Linked DNA regions of Homo sapiens: regions 1, 2, 3, 5, 6 and 7 are each linked to region 4. The links are contacts of gene promoters, found by promoter capture Hi-C in blood cells and fetal thymus (Javierre and others, 2016). All regions are on one chromosome and are shown on one strand. The core of a region is centred on a gene start or on the middle of the fragment in contact, and the rest is flanking DNA. Distances in the headings are between cores, read along the strand shown.

The links. The method cuts DNA at HindIII sites, captures the fragments that hold promoters and counts their contacts. A CHiCAGO score of 5 or more calls a contact.
Region 1: a contact is called between a fragment that was not itself captured here and the fragment with the promoter of HES1 in region 4, in 5 of 17 cell types (naive B cells, total B cells, activated CD4 T cells and 2 more). The highest score is 10.0, in naive B cells.
Region 2: a fragment that was not itself captured here is called in contact with the fragment with the promoter of HES1 in region 4 in 2 of 17 cell types (total B cells and naive B cells); the score reaches 5.8 in total B cells.
Region 3: a fragment that was not itself captured here is called in contact with the fragment with the promoter of HES1 in region 4 in 15 of 17 cell types (M0 macrophages, megakaryocytes, erythroblasts and 12 more); the score reaches 36.2 in M0 macrophages.
Region 5: a fragment that was not itself captured here is called in contact with the fragment with the promoter of HES1 in region 4 in 3 of 17 cell types (naive B cells, total B cells and naive CD4 T cells); the score reaches 12.4 in naive B cells.
Region 6: a contact is called between a fragment that was not itself captured here and the fragment with the promoter of HES1 in region 4, in 9 of 17 cell types (total B cells, naive B cells, megakaryocytes and 6 more). The highest score is 17.1, in total B cells.
Region 7: a contact is called between a fragment that was not itself captured here and the fragment with the promoter of HES1 in region 4, in 4 of 17 cell types (erythroblasts, megakaryocytes, total B cells and 1 more). The highest score is 8.8, in erythroblasts.

What each region holds. Positions count from the first base shown.
Region 1 is chr3:193,651,725-193,654,866 of GRCh38, reverse strand. OPA1 (OPA1 mitochondrial dynamin like GTPase) reads right to left here. Exons shown (of 31, transcript NM_130837.3): 22 at 1-5. The region is part of intron 4 of LOC102724808 (a long non-coding RNA gene); the gene reads left to right. Among named protein-coding and RNA genes, the nearest start is that of OPA1-AS1, 26 kb to the right of the region's middle. The HindIII fragment of the contact is 3,832 bases long and covers 1-3,142 here.
Region 2 is chr3:193,634,783-193,637,299 of GRCh38, reverse strand. OPA1 (OPA1 mitochondrial dynamin like GTPase) reads right to left here. Exons shown (of 31, transcript NM_130837.3): 9 at 1,778-1,882; 10 at 19-105. Among named protein-coding and RNA genes, the nearest start is that of OPA1-AS1, 8.7 kb to the right of the region's middle. The HindIII fragment of the contact is 1,071 bases long and covers 715-1,785 here.
Region 3 is chr3:193,783,345-193,786,595 of GRCh38, reverse strand. No RefSeq gene overlaps it. Among named protein-coding and RNA genes, the nearest start is that of LINC02038, 59 kb to the left of the region's middle. The HindIII fragment of the contact is 229 bases long and covers 1,556-1,784 here.
Region 4 is chr3:194,134,232-194,137,750 of GRCh38, reverse strand. It overlaps HES1 (hes family bHLH transcription factor 1), which reads right to left and starts at 1,603. Exons shown (of 4, transcript NM_005524.4): 1 at 1,263-1,603; 2 at 1,039-1,134; 3 at 703-790; 4 at 1-68. The coding sequence starts at 1,370. RefSeq lists enhancers at 1,477-1,636, 446-1,645 and silencers at 2,636-3,175, 3,246-3,519. The HindIII fragment of the contact is 7,369 bases long and covers 1-3,519 here.
Region 5 is chr3:193,669,806-193,673,271 of GRCh38, reverse strand. The region is part of intron 29 of OPA1 (OPA1 mitochondrial dynamin like GTPase); the gene reads right to left. LOC102724808 (a long non-coding RNA gene) reads left to right here. Exons shown (of 5, transcript XR_924835.3): 3 at 2,378-2,464. Among named protein-coding and RNA genes, the nearest start is that of OPA1-AS1, 44 kb to the right of the region's middle. The HindIII fragment of the contact is 2,906 bases long and covers 29-2,934 here.
Region 6 is chr3:193,688,644-193,692,088 of GRCh38, reverse strand. It overlaps OPA1 (OPA1 mitochondrial dynamin like GTPase), which reads right to left. Exons shown (of 31, transcript NM_130837.3): 30 at 1-26. Among named protein-coding and RNA genes, the nearest start is that of OPA1-AS1, 63 kb to the right of the region's middle. The HindIII fragment of the contact is 6,511 bases long and covers 1-3,445 here.
Region 7 is chr3:193,760,668-193,763,973 of GRCh38, reverse strand. No RefSeq gene overlaps it. Among named protein-coding and RNA genes, the nearest start is that of LINC02038, 82 kb to the left of the region's middle. The HindIII fragment of the contact is 5,071 bases long and covers 1-3,306 here.

The DNA.
Region 1 (3,142 bases), core at 553-3,052, 480 kb after region 4:
CCTCCCTGAAATAAAAAAGTATCAAAAGCACCAAATCTAAATATAATATTGTTTTTAAAAACAGCTTGACTGAAGTATCATTAACTTATAATAAACTGTACATATTTAAAATTTTGATAAGTTTTCACATGTGTATATACCTGTAAATCGCACCAGTCAAGATAATGAACGCATCCATCATCCTCAAAAGTTGTAACCACTGGAACTGCTTTCTGTCACTGTGATTACTTTGTATTTTCTAGAAATTTATATAAATGCAATCATGTGGCATATACTCTTTTTTTGTCTTTGTTCTTCCACTCCAGCATAATTATTTTGAGGTTCATCATGCTGTTGTATGTATTAATATTTCACTTTTTTTTTTTTTGAGACAGGGTCTTGCTTAGTTGCCCAGGCTGGATGGAGTACAGTGGCACATTCATGGCTCACTGGAGCCTCAACCTCCTGGGCTCAAGCCATCCTCCCACCTTATCCTCCCGAGTAGGTGGGACTACAGGTGGACGCCATTATGCCTGGCTAATTTTTTAAAATTTTGTAGAGATGGGGTCTCACTATGTTGCTGAGGCTGGTCTTGAACTCCTGGGCTCAAGCAATCCTCTTGCCTTGGCCTCCCAAAGTGTTGGGATTACAAGTGTGAGACACCGCATCTAGCAATATTTCACTTCTTTTTATTTCTGTGTAGTATTATGTTGCATGAATGTGTTTATCCATTCTTGTGTTGATAGACCCTTAGGCTGTTTCCAGCTTTTGGCTACTACAAATAAAGCTGCTATGAGAATTCACGTACAAGTCTTTCTTATGAACACATGCTTTCATTCCTCTTAGGTAAATACCTAAGAGTGGAATGTTTGGATCATATGGTAATTACATGTTTAATTTTTTTTTGAAATGTTTGCCTCAGTTTACATTTCCACTAGCAGAGAATGAGAGTTCTAGATCCTCTACATCCTTGCCAACACTTGGTATAGTCTGTCATTTAAAATTGTAGCCATTTTAGTAAGTTTATAGTGGTCATTGTGGTTTTACGTTGTATTTCTCTAATGACTAATAATTCTGAGCATCTTTTCATGCACACTTATCTGCCTAGTATTAACATATACTTCATGTGCTTACGGGAGAGTCTGAGACTGAAAATTTCTTGGTATAAATATGACAACTTATCAGATCACAGCACAGAGATGTTATAGAATGCTGTAGATAAAATTTTTCAATAATTCATGATTAAGGTAACAATGTAAAAGATGCATAATCATGTTGAAAATTCTGCCTTGAAAGACATCTTAAAAGAACATGGGTCACTAATAAAAAAATACAACTATTTCAATTTGAAATCTCAAGGAAATATTTATTTGGGTAATAAACTTAGAATACTACAATATAAAAAAAAAACTCTGCTTATCAGGGGATCCTTCTTAAGAATAATCTCAACCCTTTAGGATATAGCCACAAATCTCAGGGTAGCAGAAATATCCTGCTGTCCAAAAGCCCAGCTGAACTTCTCTGGTGAGGAGAGTCAACATCTCCTACCCTCCAAGACTATTTACTAAACATTTTGTGTAAAATTAAGTCTACTGAATCAATCAACACAGATCCTGGTTTCCCACTGCTAACTTTCAGGTCACTTTCCAGTTACAACCAGTAAAGAAATCAGAGTCTGAGGAGGATATATGACTGGGGCCCAAAAGGACAAAGACAATTTAGTCACTGAGTTAATGACAGAGAGTGGGAGAATTTAAGGAGCAAGATGAAGAAAAGCAGCCTGTCAGGGCCTCCTCTTCAGATACCACTTTATACACAATCTCAAGAAGATTACTGAAAGTTGAACTGAAGACCAGGATCCAGCCTCTGACCTCCAGGGCTTTTTTCTCATCCTGCTTCAGAAGAGACATAGTCTGTTATTTTTCCCTGGAGTCTGTGGGCCAGGAATCCATATCCCTGACACCCTTTTTAAAATCCTGATTACCAAATCCCGAGAAGCTAAAGGCAACTTTCTCAAGGGAGGTTGCTGCTTTGACATCCACAGATGCAGCTGTTATCACTTCTCCTTGCCCAGCCTCTCCTGCCTTTCATCGCCAAGCTGCTGTCCTCTGTCTCAGACTCCCACTGCTCCCCTCCATCCCAACAATTTCTGTTGTGCTCCTGTAATACCCGGTTCCATGACAAACCATTTTACACTCTCATTCTCTTTCCCTATTCTTACCTCCAAACCTTTCCTTAAGGAAAGTGATTGTCCTCTGTCCTCAAATTCTGCTGAGATGAAGCTATTCAGCAGTTAAATGGCCTTCAGAGTTAGAAAGTAGAAGTTAAGTCCTCCTCACCCCAGTCTCTCTTCTGAACCATCAGTTCTCAATGTTCATATAAAAACCATTACACTGTGAAGCCACTTCATCTAGTTATGTCATCTGCTACCTTATTGCTTGCTGCTATCATCTAACAATTTTCCCAGCCTATATTCTATGGTTTTTTTTTTTTGTTTGTTTGTTTTCAGACAGGGTCTCACTCTGTCACCCAGGCTGAAGTGCAGTGGCACAGTCTCGGCTCACAGCAACCTCCGCTTCCTGGGTTCAAGCGATTCTCCCACTTCAGCCACCCAAGTAGATGGGATTACAAGCGTGCACCACCATGCCTGGCTAATTTTTGTATATTTATTAGAGACAGGGTTTTCACCATGTTGCCCAGGTTGGTCTTGAATTCCTGAGCTTAAGTGATCCGACCATAGGGGCCTCCCAAAGTGCTGGGATTACAGGCATGAGCCACCGTGCCTGGACTATATTCTGTGTTATTATAGGTGACTTCTCTATTCCAGGTTTTGCCATCAACCAGGGATAACTTCTACTAATACACAAAATATAATTAGCAAAATATAATAAAGGTAATAGTTTTATTGCCTTCTTTATCTACAGAAACTTTACCTACATTCCACTTTAATTAAATTCTTTTTAAAATGGATTTTTTTTTATTTTAAAGTAGAGGACTATTATACTCCATATAATAATTTCAACCAATACAGAAAATGTAAGAAGTACCCCATAGTTCCTCTTTTATAAGATAACCACTATTTATGGTTTTATTATTAAAAAAATTATGTCTACGTAACTATTTGTGTGTATTTACACAAGTGGTTCATAATTATACATACTGT
Region 2 (2,517 bases), core at 1-2,500, 500 kb after region 4:
TATCAATTTTTCACATACCCGTGGCAGATGATCTTGCGTATTATAACTGGCATCATAATCAGAGAGAACATCAAGAACTTCAGAATACATGTCAATCAAAGATTTCTGTAAAAATTTTAAAAAGTTATAATATAAAACAGTAAAAGTAAAGAAAAAAATATAACAGATGTGTCAAGAGAAAAAAGTGATAAATTCAAATTGTTTTTCCATAATCATTGTACTGTTTTCTCAAATTACATAAATACATCTTCATCGTAAAAACTAAAACGGTACAGATTAAAAGTCCATTTCTCATTCAGTTTATTTAGATACAATGATTTAATAAAGTAAATTAATTCAGGATTTCCTAACATTCTAATTAAATAAGATGGAAATTATTACTTAATACTGATGAGCTAATACTGAATGCAAGAAAAGACCATTAACACCAAAAAGGCAAAAAAAAGGTGGTCAGGTAACCAACTGACAATGAAATTATTCTTTGCTAAGTTTGAGGCATGCATGAGAGAGAAAGAGAGAGGACAGAGAGCACGTGCAAGCAAGCATCTGAATAAAGGATAAACCAGGAAGACTGTTAAACCAGTAAGGGTGGTTAAGTATCCACTGACAACTGGGCAGGCTGAAATATGAGTGTAGCAAGGGCAAATATCCTGTATCGTTTCTTGCTGTAGAATCAGAAATGAATGTGGTGCCTTGCATTGCGTGTAACAAGCTTCATGTAAATTTGATGAATGAATGAACAAAAAAATACACAGGCCTGAAAAAAAGGGGTACCATCAAGCATTTAATAATTATGGATAAGTTTTAATGCTAAGGCAGGAGCAAAATGATGGCTTAAGGGTCCTTTCATTTCTTAATCCCTAGAAAAAATTAAATGGCAAGCAATTGCCAACCCACCAGCCTAAAAATAAACAAAAAATGTTAATTGCCACTGCATTTTATGAGAGAAAATACTGTTTCTGAGGTAAACTCTACATATATTAGCACTTGGAAATGACTTTTCTCAGTTCTAAGTGCCACTTGTAAATAGTCATGTTATCTGTTTTATGCAGTCATGATTTATAGTCAAAGCTACTAATGCATGTTTGTTAAGCTAGAACTGTATTATCTTTGGACCTTGACTACAGAATGTACATGCCATGATTTACTGCAGTTTTGCTACATATAAACTCTGCTTACTTATATGAGATTTAAGTTAAATAATTGTTTCAATTCAATTTAGCACATGTGGTTTAGTTGGGTGGGGAATAGTAAGACTTGATTTATTGGTAAATAAGTTCACCAATGTGCTGATAGTAACAATACCAGCACACACTTTTTCGAAAGTTCTTTGAAATGCCTAAGAAAGCTCTCCTTAGAAGAAAAGTGTTAATTTTTTAAAAACTGAAGAAAGTGGTCTAATCATTCACTGGCATACAAGTAAAGCAATGATGATAAGTCACTTACATGTCCATCAATTAACAATTCTGATTTTATATAAAATTTTATGTAAAAGTTAAGCCTAGAGATAAACTAGATATTTCAGAAAAATAAACTGATTCACACGAAATAACTCTTAAAAGTGTAAAGATTTTATGGGCATAGTATAAAACAAGTATTTGGAGACTACAACTTATAAAATGTCTTAATATAGGAAGAGATCCTCCATCCTCCAAGCACATTAGGTTAGAAAGAAAAGGATGACAGAATACTTTACAGCTCCTTAGAAACTGGTACTGATGAACACACAACGTTAAGCGGTAAAATTTTGAGAATAAACAAGACAAACTTAGAATACCTTAAGCTTTCTATGATGAATGCCTTTGTCATCTTTCTGCAATACTAATTTTCTCAATTCTTTGTTCTCCTTTTCTAATCGTTCCAAGATTCTCTGATACTTCAACTGCAATAAAATAATAAGTGTAACTATATAAGCAAAAGATGGGTTATCAAATAGTATTAAGTCTAAATTAAAATCTTCCAAAATCTTGAAGTCATATCTCCTATTTAAAATGTATTACATTTTAAAAGCATCTACGAAAACATTAGGAATAAAATAAACAATGACTATTATCTCTTACAAACAGTGGAAATCATTGTAATTTTCTATCATAATTAAGAATTTCACTTGGAAAATTCCTTGCTACTCACATTGAAAAAATTATTTTGAAATAGTGAAAACGTAAGAATTTAAAGAAGTAGTTCTTAAATACATTCTAGAAGGGAGTATTTCCTATTATATCAAAATTTTAAGTCTTCACATTACAGGGCCACTTAACAAAAATTCAAATTCTTCCCTTTCTTCACATTATTTTAGATTTTAATTAAGATGCTATAAAATAATAGCTAGCAGTACCCAAGCATGCATTATGTGACAGACTCCTTAGTAAGTGGTGCAAACGCATTAACTCCCTTAGCCTTCACAAAAACCCCATAAAGCAGGAATTACACAGACTAGGAATAAAGAGCGAGGAATATCTGAGAGCCTGACCAAGGTCACTTAGTAGAGGAGCAGGGTTTTGAATAGAGGGCTGTCAG
Region 3 (3,251 bases), core at 421-2,920, 350 kb after region 4:
GGCTCACTGCGACCTCCGCCTCCCAGGTTCAAGCGATTCTCCTGCCTCAGCCTCCCAAGTAGCTGGGATTACAGGCATGTGCCACCATGCCCAGCTAATTTTTGTATTTTTAGTAGAGACAGGGTTTCACCATGTTGGCCAGGGTGGTCTCGATTTCTTGACCTCATGATCTGCCCGCCTCAGGCTCCCAAAGTGCTGGGATTACAGGATTTTTTTTTTTTTTTTGAAATGAAGTCTTGTTCTCTTACCAAGGCTGGAATGCAGTGGCACAATCATAGCTACTGCAGCCTCAACTTCCTGAGCTCAAGTGATCCTCCCATCTTAGCCTCCTGAGTAGCTGGGATGACAGGCACATGCCCAGCTAACTTATTTTACTATTTGTAGATATGGCGTCTCCATATGTTTCCCAGGCTGGTCTTGAACTCTTTCAAGAGACCTTCCCATAACAGCTAACTATTAATATTTAATCAGCTGGCCTCTGGTTTTCTGGTCTCAGATGTCCCAGGTCCACCAGGCTTAGAAGGGAGGCCATTTCTTCCATCAGGCTTGGAAGGGAGGCGGTTAGTTCCCAGGCTCTGCAGCATTTGGCGAATGTCCTTGGACTGCTGCATGGTCACTTTCCTATGAAGAAAACTGAGGCACAGAAAGGCTCTCTACGACAGTTGTCCCTTACCCTGGGCCAAGATATTCAGGGTAGAAGAAGGGCCCAGGTGAAGGGAAGAGAAAGCTGGGGGCAACACAGTGGGCTCCATTTGGGGAACCATTTTCTTTTTCTTTTCTTTTTTTTTAGACGGAGTCTCGCTCTGTCTCCGGGCTGGAGTGCAGTGGTGCAATCTCAGCTCACTGCAACCTCCGACTCCTGGGTTCAAGTGATTCTCCTGCCTCAGCCTCCCGAGTAGCTGGGATTACAGGCATGCGCCACCACACCCAGCTAATTTTTGTATTTTTAGTAGAGATGGGGTTTCACCATGTTGGCCAGGATGGTCTCGATCGCCTGACCTCGTGATCCACCCACCTCGTCCTCCCAAAGTGCTGGGATTACAGGCGTGAGCCACCGCGCCCGGCCTGGGGAACCATTTTCTAAATCTCCCAGGCATGCGTCAGGTCTTACTGTGTCTCCATCTGCACTTTTTCACTTCAACGGCCATCTACATTATTCAATAACTGCACCAATTGTTCGTTATACGAAACTGCATTCTCTTTACAGAGCATCATTTCAAGCAGGCTTCAGTTTTTGCCACGCTTGTTTGACGGGGTCTAAATGTGCCTATTCTTCCTTCCTGTCACTTTCATCCATTCAGTTCTCTCATGAGACTGAACATGTTTGAAGAGAGAGACCCTTAACTATACAATCAGACTAGGATTTCCCTTTAAGATGGAGTTTCCAGGAATGAACTCTGCTTAAAAGCAGAGACCACCTCTTTGGGAATGTGAGGGAGAGAAATAATCAGCTTCAATTTGTGAAGAACCATTTATCATGAATGCTCTGAAACCATGTCTGTTTTAGATCTTTTCTCCAGCATAATTCAGTGATTGCACATATATCATCGAAGCTTCCTAGACTCCTGGGCTCAGCAGATGGCCCCCCAGAGGCCAGCTTTTCCATTTCTCATAGTATACTTAGGCAAAGACAGAGTGTCATTTTAGCACTTTCCTAGTTGGTATTTTTAAAAATATATTTTTGTACTGTTTAATGCTAGGTATTTAATACCTGGGAGTACTTAAAACCCTAATGGCAAGTTGAATTATCACTGCTTTGCAGCCATGGAAGCTAAAAGAAAGCTTAGAAAAAAATGATTTGGTGCATGTGTCATCTTCAGTTCAAGGTGGAAGGAGAAACCTGAGTCCTTTGACCGTATCATATTGACAGCGTGACTTCTTCCTAGCGCATCTGAGTATATTGAAGTTATTATTTAGAAAACTCAGCCAAGTCTCTCTGTTCTCAGATGCTCAACTCTAATGCCTCCAAAGCACAAAATCAGAGTAGCTCAAATAGGGCAGCAGCTTAGTTTGGATAAATCATGTCAGTCCCTGGATGATTACTGTCCTTATAAAGTAGGGGTCACACCCCCCAAAGAGCAGTGCAAAATCTCTTGGAAAATGTACATGGGAGATGCAAAAAAGAATGCATCTGCAGTCATCTCTTTATATCTATGTGGAGATTATCTGTTTAACAAGCATTAAATGAGAGGTTCATCTCTTTTTTTTTTTTTTTTTTTTGACAGAGTCTCATTCTACAGTCCAGGAATGCAGTGGTGTGATCACAGCTTGCTGCAACCTCTACCTCCTGGGCCAAAGTTGTCCTCCCATCTCAATCTCCTGAGTAGCTGGGACTGCAAGCACACAGTACTAGGTCTGTTTTTTTGTTTTTTTGTTTCTTTGTAGAGATAAGGTCTCACTGTATTGCCCAGGCTTGTCTTGAACCCCCGGGTTCAAGCTCTCTGTGTGTCTCAGCCTCCCAAAGTGCTGGTATTACAGGTGTGAGCCACCATGCCCAGCCTGCATTGTGTTTTGTCTTGGGTTCACAGTGTAGGGTTCACATTCGGACCACTGGTGCAGAAGAGGGTAAATTTAAACCCCTTCAAGTCACAAACTTGCAGGTATACGTGCTAAGTGAATAAAAGGAGGGAGTTCAAGTGGCTCACAACTATAATCCCAGCACTTCGGGAAGCCGAGGTGAAAGATCGCTTAAGGCCAGGAATTCAAGATAGCCTGGGCAACATCTCAAGATCCAATCTCTACAAAAAATCTAAAAAACTTTTTAAAGGTGAGGGCAGTGGTAAACAGTATAATACACTGATTTTGTATTTAAAAAGGAAAAAGGAATAGGGATACACATATACCTACTTATTTGCATTGTATCCATGATGACTACATCTGAAGGAATGCACCAGAAGCTGGAAACATTGTTCCTAGAAGTGGAAGATGGGTGATGGGAGGAAGGAGTAGGAGGGAGGATTTCTACTTTATATCGTTGGTACCATTTTAAACTTTAAACCATGAGAACGTATTACCTATTCACCAAAGAATCAATACAATTTGATGTAAAACATCATGCAACCTGTTCCATGGCAGGGTCAGTGGCTCCAGGTCCTGGGAGTAGGAGAGCAGTAGGTTGGAAAGGGTTGTTTTAGAACCTGTCTCAGCCAGCCTGGCTGAGAGTTGTGACATCCTTTGACCTCAGACTGTGCTCCTCCTGCTACCCAGAGTGTGGCCAGGAGTCACAAGCTCATGTTATTTCTTCAAGCAAA
Region 4 (3,519 bases), core at 354-2,853:
CTCGTTCATGCACTCGCTGAAGCCGGCTCGGTACTTCCCCAGCACACTTGGGTCTGTGCTCAGCGCAGCTGCGGGCCAGAAAGAGACAGACGGGTCACCGAACGGCCCTGGCCCCGTGGCCACTGCCTCCGCCCTGGGAGGTCCCTGTGGCGCGCCTCCCTGACCATGCGCCCGTGAAACTGCCTCCGGCAGGGAGGGTGAGATGGGTTTAGAAAAAACCAGCCACCTCTCCACACTAGCGTTGCTGCCAAAAGCCGAGCCACTCCTTCCCGATTCCCTGTAGCTGCATTTAAACCTATCTCAGCCCCAGATCTGTCACCCCCACCCCCGCGCGCGATGTGACCTTGGACAATGCCTCCCAATCCATCATCCAAGCCTCATTTCCCCTTCTGCAACGGGAAGGAGTGCTAAACCAGTGACCCCCAGGCTCCACGCAGTTCCAAACCGCCACAGTCCTAAGTCCTTTCGCCCCTACCCGGCGCCCGCCACCCTCGCGGCTGCAACCTCTTTCCCTCCCTTTCCGGAACAGTAACAACTTGGAGTTGTGGCTATAAATAAGCCCCAGACCGTGGGAACGCAAGAGTGAGCCAAGGCAGTAAAATGTAGCTGAATGCCTCTCACAACCACGGGCGGAAGTCTGGAAGAAATCACCGCGAGGCGAGCGGGACGCCCGCACAGGGGGACGCGGCGAGCCGCCCTCACCCGTCATCTGCGCCCGCTGCAGGTTCCGGAGGTGCTTCACTGTCATTTCCAGAATGTCCGCCTTCTCCAGCTTGGAATGCCGCGAGCTCTGCATAGAGTAGGCAAGAAAGGAAAGTGAGCCCCGTGTCAGCTGCTTCAGAGTGCTGGGGGTCCCTCCTCCCGGCCACGGAGCGCAAGCATTATCTCTGGACCCCAGCGAATAAGGCCGGGCCCTCCCGCCTGGGAGAACGCAGTACCAGCGAGTGCCAGACCCCGCAGGGCGGGGGGTTTCACTCTTAGTAGCTGAGAAAGTGTTTGTTTTTTAATTAAAAGAGCGAGCAGCATTTCCCCACTTACATCTTTCTTCAGAGCATCCAAAATCAGTGTTTTCAGCTGGCTCAGACTTTCATTTATTCTTGCTCTTCGTCTTTTCTCCATAATAGGCTTTGATGACTGCAAATAAAAAAAAGAGTTCTGTGTTCCCATGGAATCTGCCATCCCGGGGTTTCAAGACAGAAAGAAGCCCCCCAACCCCTACTTAATTTTGAGGGGCTGCAAAGAGATACAGGTACCGCCCTTACCTTTCTGTGCTCAGATGCTGTCTTTGGTTTATCCGGTGTCGTGTTGACACTGGCTGGGGTAGCAGCCACCGGGGACGAGGAATTTTTCTCCATTATATCAGCTGGCATTTTCCTTTTTTTTTTTTTTTTATCTCTAGAGAATTTTATTTTTGGAGTTCTTCACGAAAAAGAATTTTTTGTTTGTGTCTCTTTTACTTGAGACTTTCACAAAACTACTGAGCAAGTGCTGAGGGTTTATTATATTTTGTGGCTACTTGGTGATCAGTAGCGCTGTTCCAGGACCAAGGAGAGAGGTAGACGGGGGATTCCGCTGTTATCAGCACCAGCTCCGGATCCTGTGTGATCCCTAGGCCCTGGCGGCCTCTATATATATCTGGGACTGCACGCGAACGGCTCGTGTGAAACTTCCCAAACTTTCTTTCCCACAGTAACTTTCAGCCAATGGGAGGAGGAGACACGCGGCACCGCTCGTGGACCGCGCCCCCCCATTGGCCGCCAGGCACAAGGTCTGGCGGCCAATGGCGCGCGCCTGAGCCCAGGGCACCGGAGGCTACAACGTCAATCAAAAGGATTTTAACCCTTTGCTACTCTCCCTCTGGGCTTTGGTTTAGAGATTTTTTTTTTCTTTCCGCTTTGGTCTTGATCTTGTCTATTTCTTTTGGAGCCAGGGTCTTTGCTCTTTATGCCCTCTCTCATATGTAACAGAGCTGCTTTGACTGTAGTAAGTTCATTTGAAACATATTTTTTTTAAAGGTATAAACAATAAAGAAAAAAACAGCAGTGGTTAAAAGGGGGCGGGGGGAGGGGGGGACGGGTGTAAGAATGTGAGTTACCGACACATCTAAAGTTCCCGCTCAGACTTTACATTCAGGAGGGTGAAAGTAGATGGTAAAGGAAAAGGGCCAAAAAAATTTTCCTGTTTCCATGCAGAAAAAGGAAAAATTGCCTTCTACCTCACAAATGCAGGTTTTTCGGAGCAAGGTAGTTCTTGAATCCCACCCCCACCCCGTCTTTCAGAAATTCCTCGTTTGGATTTGGGGCCTTAGACCCCGGGCTTCCCCAGGAAACAATCAGAATAATTTCCAACTGGGTGGAAGGAAACGGTATTTCAAATGAAAAAATGAACAAGGGGGGCTCCGAGGGCAATGACTCAGGGACTCGCGCCCTCCTTCACCACCCTTTCCCTTTTCATCCGTAGGCTTTAGGTTCTGCGGCGCGTTGAGGTGGCGGGCAAGGAAGCAGCCTCTCCCTCCTCGCCCCGCGGGCGGCCTCGGCCCCCGGCGCCCGCGGGCCCTTTAAGAGCTACACCAGCCGAGCTGCAGTTTGACATCAGCCGGCCGGCGTGGGCGCGCCTGGAGCCGGAGCACGTGCCAGGATGTTTTATTGCCGCCGCGGCTGCGGCCGGGCCGGGAGGATGTGTGTGTGCGTGCGTGTGTGAGTGAGTGTGTGTGCGCGCGCCCCGGGGGCAGGGAGGCGGGGGGCGGCGACGGGCGGCGGAGAGCGGGGGCCGGTTCCTGGTCCCCGGGAGAAGCCAAGAAGGTAAATAGCAGCTGCTGTGCTCGAGCCTGGGAAAACCCCGCCCCCTGCGCCTGGCCCGGGCTCATTGGCGCGCGCTGCGTGTGGGGGGTGTGTGTGTGTGTGTGTCCGGGGCCCCCTCCTCCGGCCCCGCCGGGCCAGGAATCCGAGGGGGCGGCGGGCTGGGAGCCGAGCCCCGGCGCTTACCCTCTCTCCCCACCCCCGCCTCCCCAGGCCAAGGTCAGCTCTTCCCGGCGGGGAGCGCACACCCGGGGTGGAGAGTGGGGAATTCTTCCAACCCCCGCCTCCCCACCCTCACTTTCGGGCTTGGGGTTTTCACTCGGCCGAAAGCCGCATTCGCAACAGCCCGGGGGCGAGGTGGGGGCCTCCAAGTTTGCTCCTCGCCCCCGCCCTCTCCCCGCGGGGCCCTGGGCGCCCGCCGCGGTCACGGGATGCCTGACCGCACTTAGGAAGCGGCCGGGTCAGCCTCCTGCCTCCGCTCGGCGACTGCGGTTAAAGCGGCTTCGCGCCGCCCGCCCCTTCCCCGGGTCCCGGGCGGCCGGGCCGCTCCCCCTCACTACGCCCGGGAGGCCGCCGGCGGGCGCCCGGGAGGAGGCGGGCGGCGCGGGCGGCTGCGTGCTGCCTGCTGGCCGGGCCGCGCGCCGGGAGGAGTCGCCGCCGCCGCCGCCGGGTGCCACGTGGCGGGCGCCGGGCCGGGAGCGCCAGGGCTCTGGCGGCGGCC
Region 5 (3,466 bases), core at 232-2,731, 460 kb after region 4:
GTGAAGGACACTGGTAACTATGGAAGCTTCTCAATATAAAGGACAATTTTATGTCATCATATTTTCCAAAGGCTTGAGTTTTTACTCCCTCCCAAATGATTCTGGCACAGTAGTGAAAAGACCCAGGCCCAAATCTCAGCTTCAGCATCTACTACCTACGAGTTCCTAACCCTCCATTTCATCTGTAAAATGAGAAAAATAACTACCTAACTCAAAAGTTGTGAGAATCAAATGAAAATTCACATAAAGCATTTAACCTAATATCTGGCACAAGAAAAGTATTCAAATGTTATTTTACATTCATAAACAGTTTCAAGTTTTTACACAAAATCAAAAGGAATTTATTGTAAAATAAGGAGAAAAGACTCCTTAGGTTTTTGTTTTTCGTTTTTTTTTTTTTTTTGAGATGGAGTCTCGCTCTGTTACCCAGGCTGGAATGCAATGGCACAGTCTTGGCTCACTGCAACCTCTGCCTCCCGGGTTCAGGCGATTCTCCTGTCTCAGCCTCCCGAGTAGCTGGAATTACAGGCGCCTGCCACCATGCCCAGCTAATTTTCGCATTTTTAGTAGAGACGGGGTTTCACCATGTTGGCCAGGCTGATCTCGAACTCCTGACCTCAGGTGATCCACCCGCCTCGGCCTCCCATAGTGCTGGGATTACAGGCGTGAGGCACCGCATCCGGCCAAGACTCCTTAGGTCTTAGAGCAATCTAAATGATCAATAATGCCCCTTGAATGTGTCAGTATCAATAAGTCTCTGATTACACGCACAGAGAATAAAAAGTGTAACAGGCTTTAGTGAACAAGGGTTCCAGGCAATTTCTATGAAGGCCCAATACCTCACAATAACCTAGTAACAGCAGATACAATGTTCACAGAAAAAACAATAAAATAATTCCACACTGTACTGGTGAAACTTGGCTTAGCAGCAAACACTACTACCAATTGTTATTGATGCCCAGATACTTAGTTTCTGAGGTAGAATGGGGCAAAAAACAAATTGCACTTATGATGACAATCATAAGATAGATTTTATGAATTATAAAATAGATCATAATAGAAAGAACAACTTTGAATTGAACTATAACATACCAATCTTCATCTCTCCAAAGAAAGTATTCTAAAGTTATACTATTTCAATAAACAGATTGGACACATTACTAAAACTTACACTGGGACTCCAAACAGATTTTATCTAAGTTGACACCAAACTTAAAATATCTATTTAAAAAATCCTTTGAAACTGAATTTTCTAGAAAATCAAAAGAATTTCATGAAAGTCCCAGTGGGCATATTTTAACACCAGACAATTCTAAGTATGGGTAGATACTGCAAACAAGAAATTAAGGTAGAAAAATCAGCTGCATATCCTATTAAATTATCCATGAGGTAACTCAGTGTTTCAACGTCTTCAGGGATGATGTTCTCAAAAGTCTCATTTCCTCTAAAGTACTTTCACATGACCCTAATCCATTATTAGTTATAAAAACAAAATTTAACCTTTTTTTAACCTTTTATGCATAAACAATTTCAGACTTACAGAAAAGTTGCAAGACCACTACAAAGATCATATTTCTCCTGAAACATTTGTTGTAATCATGCATTATCATCCCCAAATATTCTACTTTGTATTCGCTATGAATAATGGTATTTTCCAAAATAATCCCAACCTAATAAAAATTTAAAAATTAACACTGATATATTACTACAATGGAACCCTCGGATCCCCTTCAAATATCACTAACTGGCCCATTAATGTCCTTAGAGCAAAAAGATCCAATCTAGGATCATACATTGCATTTAGTTTTAAGTCTCTTCCAACTGGAGCAGCTCTTCACTCTTTCCTTGTCTTTCATGATCTTGATGCATTTGAAGATTACAGGCCAGTTATTTTGCAGACTGTGCTCTAACTTGGGTTTGTCTCATGTATTGTTATGACTGAATTTAAGTTCTACATCTTTGGTAAGAAGTACTTCAGGAGTCTTCTTGCATTTTAGAGTCTTCTTGCATATGGTTTTGATTTGACCATTACTGATAATATTAACTCTGACCACTTGCTTAAAGTGATGATTGCCAGGCTTCATCCACTGTAAAGTTACTCTTTTCCCTCTTTTAATTAGTACATATTTTCTGTGAACATATTTTGCGTGATGACATAAACATCCCTTTTTGCATCATGGTTTTATTCCCTTATTTATATAATTACCAATGTATGGATTCCTATTTCATTCAATGAGTTACAATTTGTTACTGTCATTATTTTGGGGCCCAAATTGTCCCCAGCCTGGCCAGTTGGAGCCTCCTTCAGAGGGTTTCTGTGACCTGCTGACATCTCCTCATCATCTTTCAAGCACTCCCTTCCTTTCTACACCCACAGGCTCATCCTGTCCTTTCCCTGCTCCAGCTATGGAATCTACCATATCTCCAAAGAATCCTGGAAGAGCCTCTCCTGAGACAAAATCATGTGAGCTCCTTTTTCATTTCTTCAATCTTCCTAACTCTAGCTTTATGGTTTCATTTCAATAGTGAACACAGTATATCTTCTCCAGGATGTGAAAGAAAAATGTACTACTACTACTTATGTACTCATCTTAAAGGGCAGTCAGGGCTGGGCATGGTGGCTCATGCCTATAATTCCAGCACTTTGGGAGGCCGAGGCGGGCGGATCATGAGGTCAGGAGATCGAGACCATCCTGGCTAACATGGGGAAACCCCGTCTCTACTAAAAATACAAAAAATAAGCCAGGCATGGTGGCGGGCGCCTGTAGCCCCAGCTACTCGGGAGGCAGAGGTGGGAGAACCACCTTGCAGTGAGCCGAGATCGTGCCACTGCACTCTAGCCTGGGCGACACAGCGAGACTCCATCTCAAAAAAAAAAAAAAAGGTGGGGGGGAAGTCTCCAAGGTAAGGAAATGATTTAAAATCGTACAAGCTTAAAACTGGCAAAAATATGAATGCATCAACATTTTAACACTCTATACAATATTCTGTAACAGGCTGAAACTGTAGTAAAAATTTGATTGCCTCCCTTTCTCCAAATCCAATCAACCAACACACTATGTTCTAATTGAACAGGCTATACTAGAAACTTTGATCCTTATAATACATTAATAACTTAAATTTGGAAAGTTTTCTGGCTGAAGTATCCATGACCCTATTCCCAAGTGTCAGACCAAAGATAAACAGTAACGAAAAGGCACTCTCCAGACTCTTTTCCAACTAATGAACAAAGTCATGGCTCATCTCCTTGAGGGTGACTGATGCAGCTGAGTTACTGGCAAAACCCTTGCTTCCAAGGACATTATTTGGTACATTAACACCATTATAATTTTATATGTACAAAAGTAGTAAATCATTTCAAGGGAGTTATATGACTGCTTTCTCAGGAAAACCAGCAGTAGAACATAGAACTTGGCTTGACAGTGTACATATCTGAGTTAGTAATCCACTTCCTTTAAATAATCAA
Region 6 (3,445 bases), core at 782-3,281, 450 kb after region 4:
TTTTTCTTGAATTTCTCTAACTTTCTCTGTGGAGATAAAAATAAAGAAAAACATTTATTTTTCAAAGGTATCACAAATCAGGAGGTAATTATTTACTAAATGGTTGGTATACTTAACTATTTGCGGGAAAAAGAAAAATATGAGTCTCACCATACCACCTTTTACCCAAATAAAGTCCAGATGGATTATAGTAGTAGGTCTCAGACATTTTTTGGAAGTGGGAGGAGAGACTGACTGACCCCTTTGAGGATCTAACAAAAACTCTGGACTCTTAACATGGAAAAAAGCATGTATTAAGTACATGTACAATTATGTAGAGAATTTTAAGGAATTCTCAGATTCTCTGAAGCCCAATTAAGAACCCACAGTTACTAATGTCTGGATCATAGGCAAATATAAAACAATGAAACCATTTTAAAAAACTAAAAGAAAATAGAGGTGGCCTTAGACTGGGAAATGACTTTTTAAATATAAAGTAGTAAGAGTTACAAAGGAAAAGATCAATCAATATGGCCATATTGAAATGTATACTTTTATTTATATGTCATAAAATTAAAAGACAAAGGAAGCTGTGGGAGATGCTTGCAACAAACATGAGAAGTGCAATGGTGCTATAAAAATACATACAAAAAAGTACTTTGCCAGCTATAAATAAGTTTAAAAATACCAGAGCCACTAGAGGTAGATTTACATTATTTATTTTAGGTTTTCATGTTTATAGACTTCCAAATGAAATATATACTCTCTGAAATGTAGATTTCCTCCACAAATGTGAACTGCTCATAGTACATGCCAATCCCCTCTTAAAATTGGAAAAGTCATGATCTATACTACTTCACATGCACCTCCTACTTTATTTTATATTCTGAGATGGGGGTCCTACTCTGTCGCCCAGGTTGGCGTGCAGTGGTGTTGGCAGGGCTTACTGCAGCCTCAACCTCCTGAGCTCAGGTGATCCTCCCGCCTTGGCCTCCCACGTAGCTAAGACCACAGGCACGTGCCACCACGCCTGGCTAAGTTTTTATTTTTAATTTTTTTGTGGAGATAGGATCTCACTTTGTTGCCCAGGCTGGTCCTGAACACCTGGGCTCAAGTGATCCTCCTGCCTTGGCCTCCCAAAGTCCTGGGATTACAGGTGTGAGCCACTGTGCCTGGCCTCCTATTTTAAAACACAGGTTATAGTAAGCATGATAAATATTTTTGTTCTTTTAAGGTAATTTAACATATTAGTGGAAATGATCAATTAAGGTGGGTTGGCTGGTTCAAAGTGAGTGACCTAGAGGCAAAACTGGCAAGCATTCTACTTTCACTATGTAGGAAAACCATGTAAGATGCATTTAATATTTGACATTTATATCTTTTATATTTAAAAGTAAATAATCTGCAATTGAAGATACATGTATTCCTTTTTACCAGCGAGGCAGCTATTAGTGATGAGTACCCAAGAAAATGAAGAATTGTCCTTTTTATGAATTCTTATTAGCATTGCAGGAACTCAAAAAAGCCTACCACGGTTGGATATAAAGAACGTAACATTTTCATATTCTTTTTCCAGTAATTTATTCTTTTCATATTATTTTTCCAGTAATTTAAAACTTCTAGGTCTCACTATGTTGCCCAGGCTAGACTCAGACTCCTGGGCTCAATTGATCCTGCTGCCTCAGCCTCCTGAGTAGCTGAGACTACAGGTGAGTGCCACTATGCCTGGCTGAAGCACTTCTTATTCTAGGCATTAGATTCAGACTGATATAAAATCTGTGTGTGTGTGGGGTGGGGTGGGGGGGGAGTCCAGTTGTTTTAATCAAGCTATGTATTGAGAAAATATGATAATAGTTATTATGAAGGTAGCATTAACCCCTTATATATAAAATTAAACTAGAGAAACTTAAAAAAAAAAATCCTAACCCATCTCCTAGAAGTTGAGTCTCAATTTTTTGGTAGGCTGACTTCCATTTTTTAAACAGCAGACAAACAAGTAAATATTCTTGTTTTCCCAAAATAAGGCCACATTCTTAGTTTAAAAATTAATTCATCTAGTTGCTTAGAAACAGCTTAACCTATTTTTTTTTTTTTTCAGTGAATGTAAGAAAGTTTCACATCAGTTCATCAGTTGGAGGATTTTTAAAAAGTGGGGAGGTTAGGAGAAAGACATTTTCTAAATTGTTACCTAGAATGCTGGAAATGAATGTGGTCTTAAAAAACCATCTAACTTAAATCACACAACACACGGGAATCTCAAACGGGTGCTTCTCTCCACATTTCATTGAGAAATATTTCTACTTGGAAATGCTGTACTGTATGAAGAGAAGAAATCCAACTCCATTTGATACACGATTTGAGTACAATAGGGCAGTGCATGGCCAGGTCTACCCATTCTTTTGGCCTACTGGTGACCCCCATCTTAAGCTGGATGGACTACTGCAGGGAGGTGGTACAGCAGCCTCACTCCCTACAAGAGACTATTCAGAGAAGATCCAATTGAATTGAAAGATACCAAGAGCCACCCTGATGCAGGTGTCTCACCCTGTAAGGTCTAAATGAAAATCAGATTTTTCTAAAATTAACAGGTAAGCAGTTTTTTTCCTAAATAAAAGCAAAAAGACTATTTAATGTACTTTAATATGAAAACCACAAAATGAAAAAATGCCGAATTTCCCTTAAATATTTACGATTAGAATATCAGGACACAGTACTACCATGCCTTGAAACCTCAGGAATGACAAAGGACACTTAACTAAGTTACCAGGAAGTAATGGGGGTAGGAGGTGTGAACGGAGGGGAGACTGGAGGTGAGTGTTAAAAGAGCAATTATGATAAATGTATCCTTTAAACATTAACTAAAAAACATTTATTTCTTTGTTCTTTCACTTTCACAATGTACTTCATAAAGTGATATGAGGACACAGATGATATCCTACCTTTGAGAAGCATTCCTGGCTTACTCTGCTATGATGTATCTACTATGTATTTCCAAATTTGGCGTTTCATTTGGTTCTCATACAACCTTGCAGGTATCATTGCTAAATATGAGGACATTAAAGCCTGGAGTTAGCCTTGTCTACACTTCTCTGATTAAGAAACACATCTGCTACGATGTTTGTTTGTCTGACGCAGAGTCTTGCACTGTCACCCAGGAGTGCAGTGATGCAAACACGGCTCACTACAGCCTCGACCTCCCAGGCTCAAGCGATTCTCCTACCTTAGCCTTCCAAGTAGCTGGGACCACAGGCATGCAGCACCACACCTGGCTAATTTAAAACAATTTTTTTTGTCAAGATGGGGGTCTCACTATGTTGCCCAGGCTGGTCTCGAAGTCTTGGCCTCAAGCAATCCTCCCCACTCGGCTTCACAAACTGCTGGAATTACAGGGCGTGAGCTACTACACCCAGTCTGCTACTGTATGTTAACTCATAATAACAAAGCTCATAGTGACGAAGCAAATGCT
Region 7 (3,306 bases), core at 363-2,862, 370 kb after region 4:
TGGAGAACTTTAGGAAGAGCGGCACGATTTGAGTTAGGTGTTAGCAGGATCATTCAGGCTGCTGCGTGGAAAACAGACTGCAGCGGGGCAGTGCAGAAAGCTGGGAGACCACTTAGAGGGGCCTGAGATAATCTAGACAAGCACCAACATTGAGTTGAGACGAGCTGACAATTGAATTTGCTGCTGACATTGAACGTGATATGTAAGAAAAATGGAGGAATTAAGGGAGACTGCAAAGTTTTTGGGCTGGACAACTAGAAGGAAGGAGTTGTCATGAACTGAGATGAAGAAGACTTCAAGAGAAACAGCTCATTTATCATGTTGGTTTTAAGACACCTATTAAATATTCCAGTACAGTAGCAGAGTAGACAACTGGGTATCCAAGTCTGAAGACAGAAAGAAGTCCGAGCTGGTATGGTAGGCCCAATAATGATCCCCCAAATATGTTCCCACCCTAACCCCCAGAACCCATGAGTGTTAATTTGGGAAAAGGGTTTGATTAAGTTAAGGACTTTGAGATTAGCCTGAATGATCCAGATGTGATCACCATGGCTCTTAGAAGGACACAAGAGGAATAAAAGAGGAAAAGATGGTGTGATGATGGAAGCAGGGGTTAGAGTAATAATAGCCACAGGCCAACGAATGCTGGCAGCCTCTAGAAGTTAGAAGAGGCAACGAATGGGTTCTCCCCAGGAGCCTTCAGAAGAAACCAGCTCTGCTGGCACATTGATTTTTAGCCCCGTAAGACTTCTGATCTCCAGAATTATGAGAGACTAAATCTGTGTTGTTTTAAGCTACTAAATCCACTAAGCCAGTAATTTGTTATAGCAGCCAAAGAAAAATGAAGATATAAACCTAGGGGCATATTCTAATAAGAATAATGGTCTCCCTTGACTGGGGCAGTGAAAATTAAAAAAAAAAAAAAAAGAATAATGAGATCTCCCAGGGACCAGTACAGAGAGAGAAGAGAGGTGAGCACAGAGGACTGGAGCAGCTGGAGTGATGAGGAGGAAGGCTCACAAGAGACCAAGAAGTGTGAACTGCCCACTAGGAGGAAATCAGGAGAGTGTGGTGCCTGGGAAGCAAAGTGAAAAGAACTTCAAGAAGAGGAAGTGATTTGTTAGGTGAGGTGCCACTGATAGTCAAGACAAATGAGAGGTGAGCACTGACCATGGGATGGAGCCCCTCAATGGCCTTGATGAAAGCAGTTTGGGCAGAGAGGTGGGGGATTGGGGGAAATTCTCACAGCAGGACCCAGAGAGAGTTGGAGAAGTGAAATTTGGTGATGGCATGAGAAGGCAAATCTCTCAGCCGGATGTGGTGGCTCATGCCTGTAATTCTAGCACTTTGGGAGGCCAAGGCAGGCGGAATGCTTGAGCTCAGGTGTTTGAGATCAGCCTGGGCAACATGGTGAAACCCCCTCTCTACTAAAATACAATAAAAATTAGCCGGGTATGGTGGTGTGTACCTGTAGTCCCAGCTACTCGGGAGGCTGAGGCAGGAGAATGGCTTGAACCCGGGAGGCAGAGGTTGCAGTGAGCCGAGATTGGGCCACTGCAGTCCAGCCTGGGCAACAGAGGGAGACTCCGTCTCTGAAAAAAAAAAAAAAAAAAAGGCAAATCAAACCTCTCAACGTGTTTGGCAGTACAGGGAAAATGAGAAATAAGAGGACAATCGAAGGGACACTTGGGATATTGTTTATGGTTTCTATTTAGGCTGTTGACAATGATGTAATAGAGAAGGGGAAATTGAGGATGCAAGATAAGGAAATGACTGGAATAATGTCCTCAGAGAGAGGGAGGGGGGCATAGGATCCAGTTATTCCAGTGCAGGCTGCCTAGACTCTGAGGGCCTCCCCTCCCTCTGGGTTCCTGCTCCACATCCTCCCTGGGCTGAGGAAGCATCCCATTTTCCTCACTCCTGAAGGGATCTCCCAATTTCTTGTGATTCCGCAGCAGCTTGTCGGCAGCCCAGTGAGCTTGCAGGTCAGCAGTGCTTCATCCGGGAGCAGGCAGAGTCCTAGGAAGGCCACTTTGCAGCCAAGGCCAGGTGTTCCCTCTGCCCAACTCTGAGAATGCTTGACCGGAGAAGACCCTGAGAATATCCTACAACAACTCCATCACATTATATGTTCTGAGAGTTAGTACACTTTGAAAAGCCCAACTCTAACTAGGACTGACATTTCAAAATCATGCAAAAACATATTTTTATAGTCATATATGAACAAAAGGGCTTATTCCACTTTCCCCTCAACTTTTAATGACATCAAGTTGTTAATTTCCAGGTTCCTTAATTATACCCAGAATATTTTCCCTTGCCTTCTGAAAACTCCCTTATGTCAATTGTACCCAGCATTCTTCATTGCCTCCAACCCCACATTAGCAGACATCTCATGAAGATGTGAGACAGCTACTGGATTCCTCTGTAAGAACAGACAGTGAAGACCCACATGTTCTTCTGTATTTATGATAGTATACACTGTATATTTTCAGTTATGCATATTCAATACCTCTGCGCCAGGTATTTATTTATTTATTTATTTATTTATTTATTTATTTATTTGAGACGGAGTTTCGCTCTCGCCCAGGCTGGAGTGCAGTGGCGGGATCTCGGCTCACTCACTGCAAGCTCCGCCTCCCGGGTTCACGCCATTCTCCTGCCTCAGCCTCCCGAGTAGCTGGGACTACAGGCGCCCGCCATCACGCCCAGCTAATTTTTTGTATTTTTAGTAGAGATGGGGTTTCACCGTGTTAGCCAGGATGGTCTCGATCTCCTGACCTCGTGATCCGCCTGCCTCGGCCTCCCAGAGTGCTGGGATTACAGGTGTGAGCCACCGCGCCCGGCCTGCGCCAGGTCTTCTTATATAAAAAGTCACATATATTCGAACAGGAATGGCTGACAATTTTGTGATGGTCACAATTAATGACCAGTTTCATCAGGGTTCCATTTGCCATAGCTGAATCTGCTTATGTTTGTAAGAATCATTCTTAAATAATTTATACGATTTGAAAGAACTTTATACAGAACTATCCTTGATAGAGTATTTGAACTGGTTACAGTTTATCCCCCTAAACATTGTTTTTAAACTTTATATTTTTGTCTTCAACCTCAACTCTCATCCTAGGATACAAACAATAGTTGTGAATAGTTTGTTTCCGTCTTTATTTTTTTAACTTGTAAATTAATCTCCATCAGGAGAGAGAGCTGGGTAGCCTCGCAGCAGATCAGAGGAGAAGCTAGACGTGGAACCCTGATGATAGCCTAAACCCCACTGGAGGGGTCTTCTGGAATCCTGATAGCCTAAAC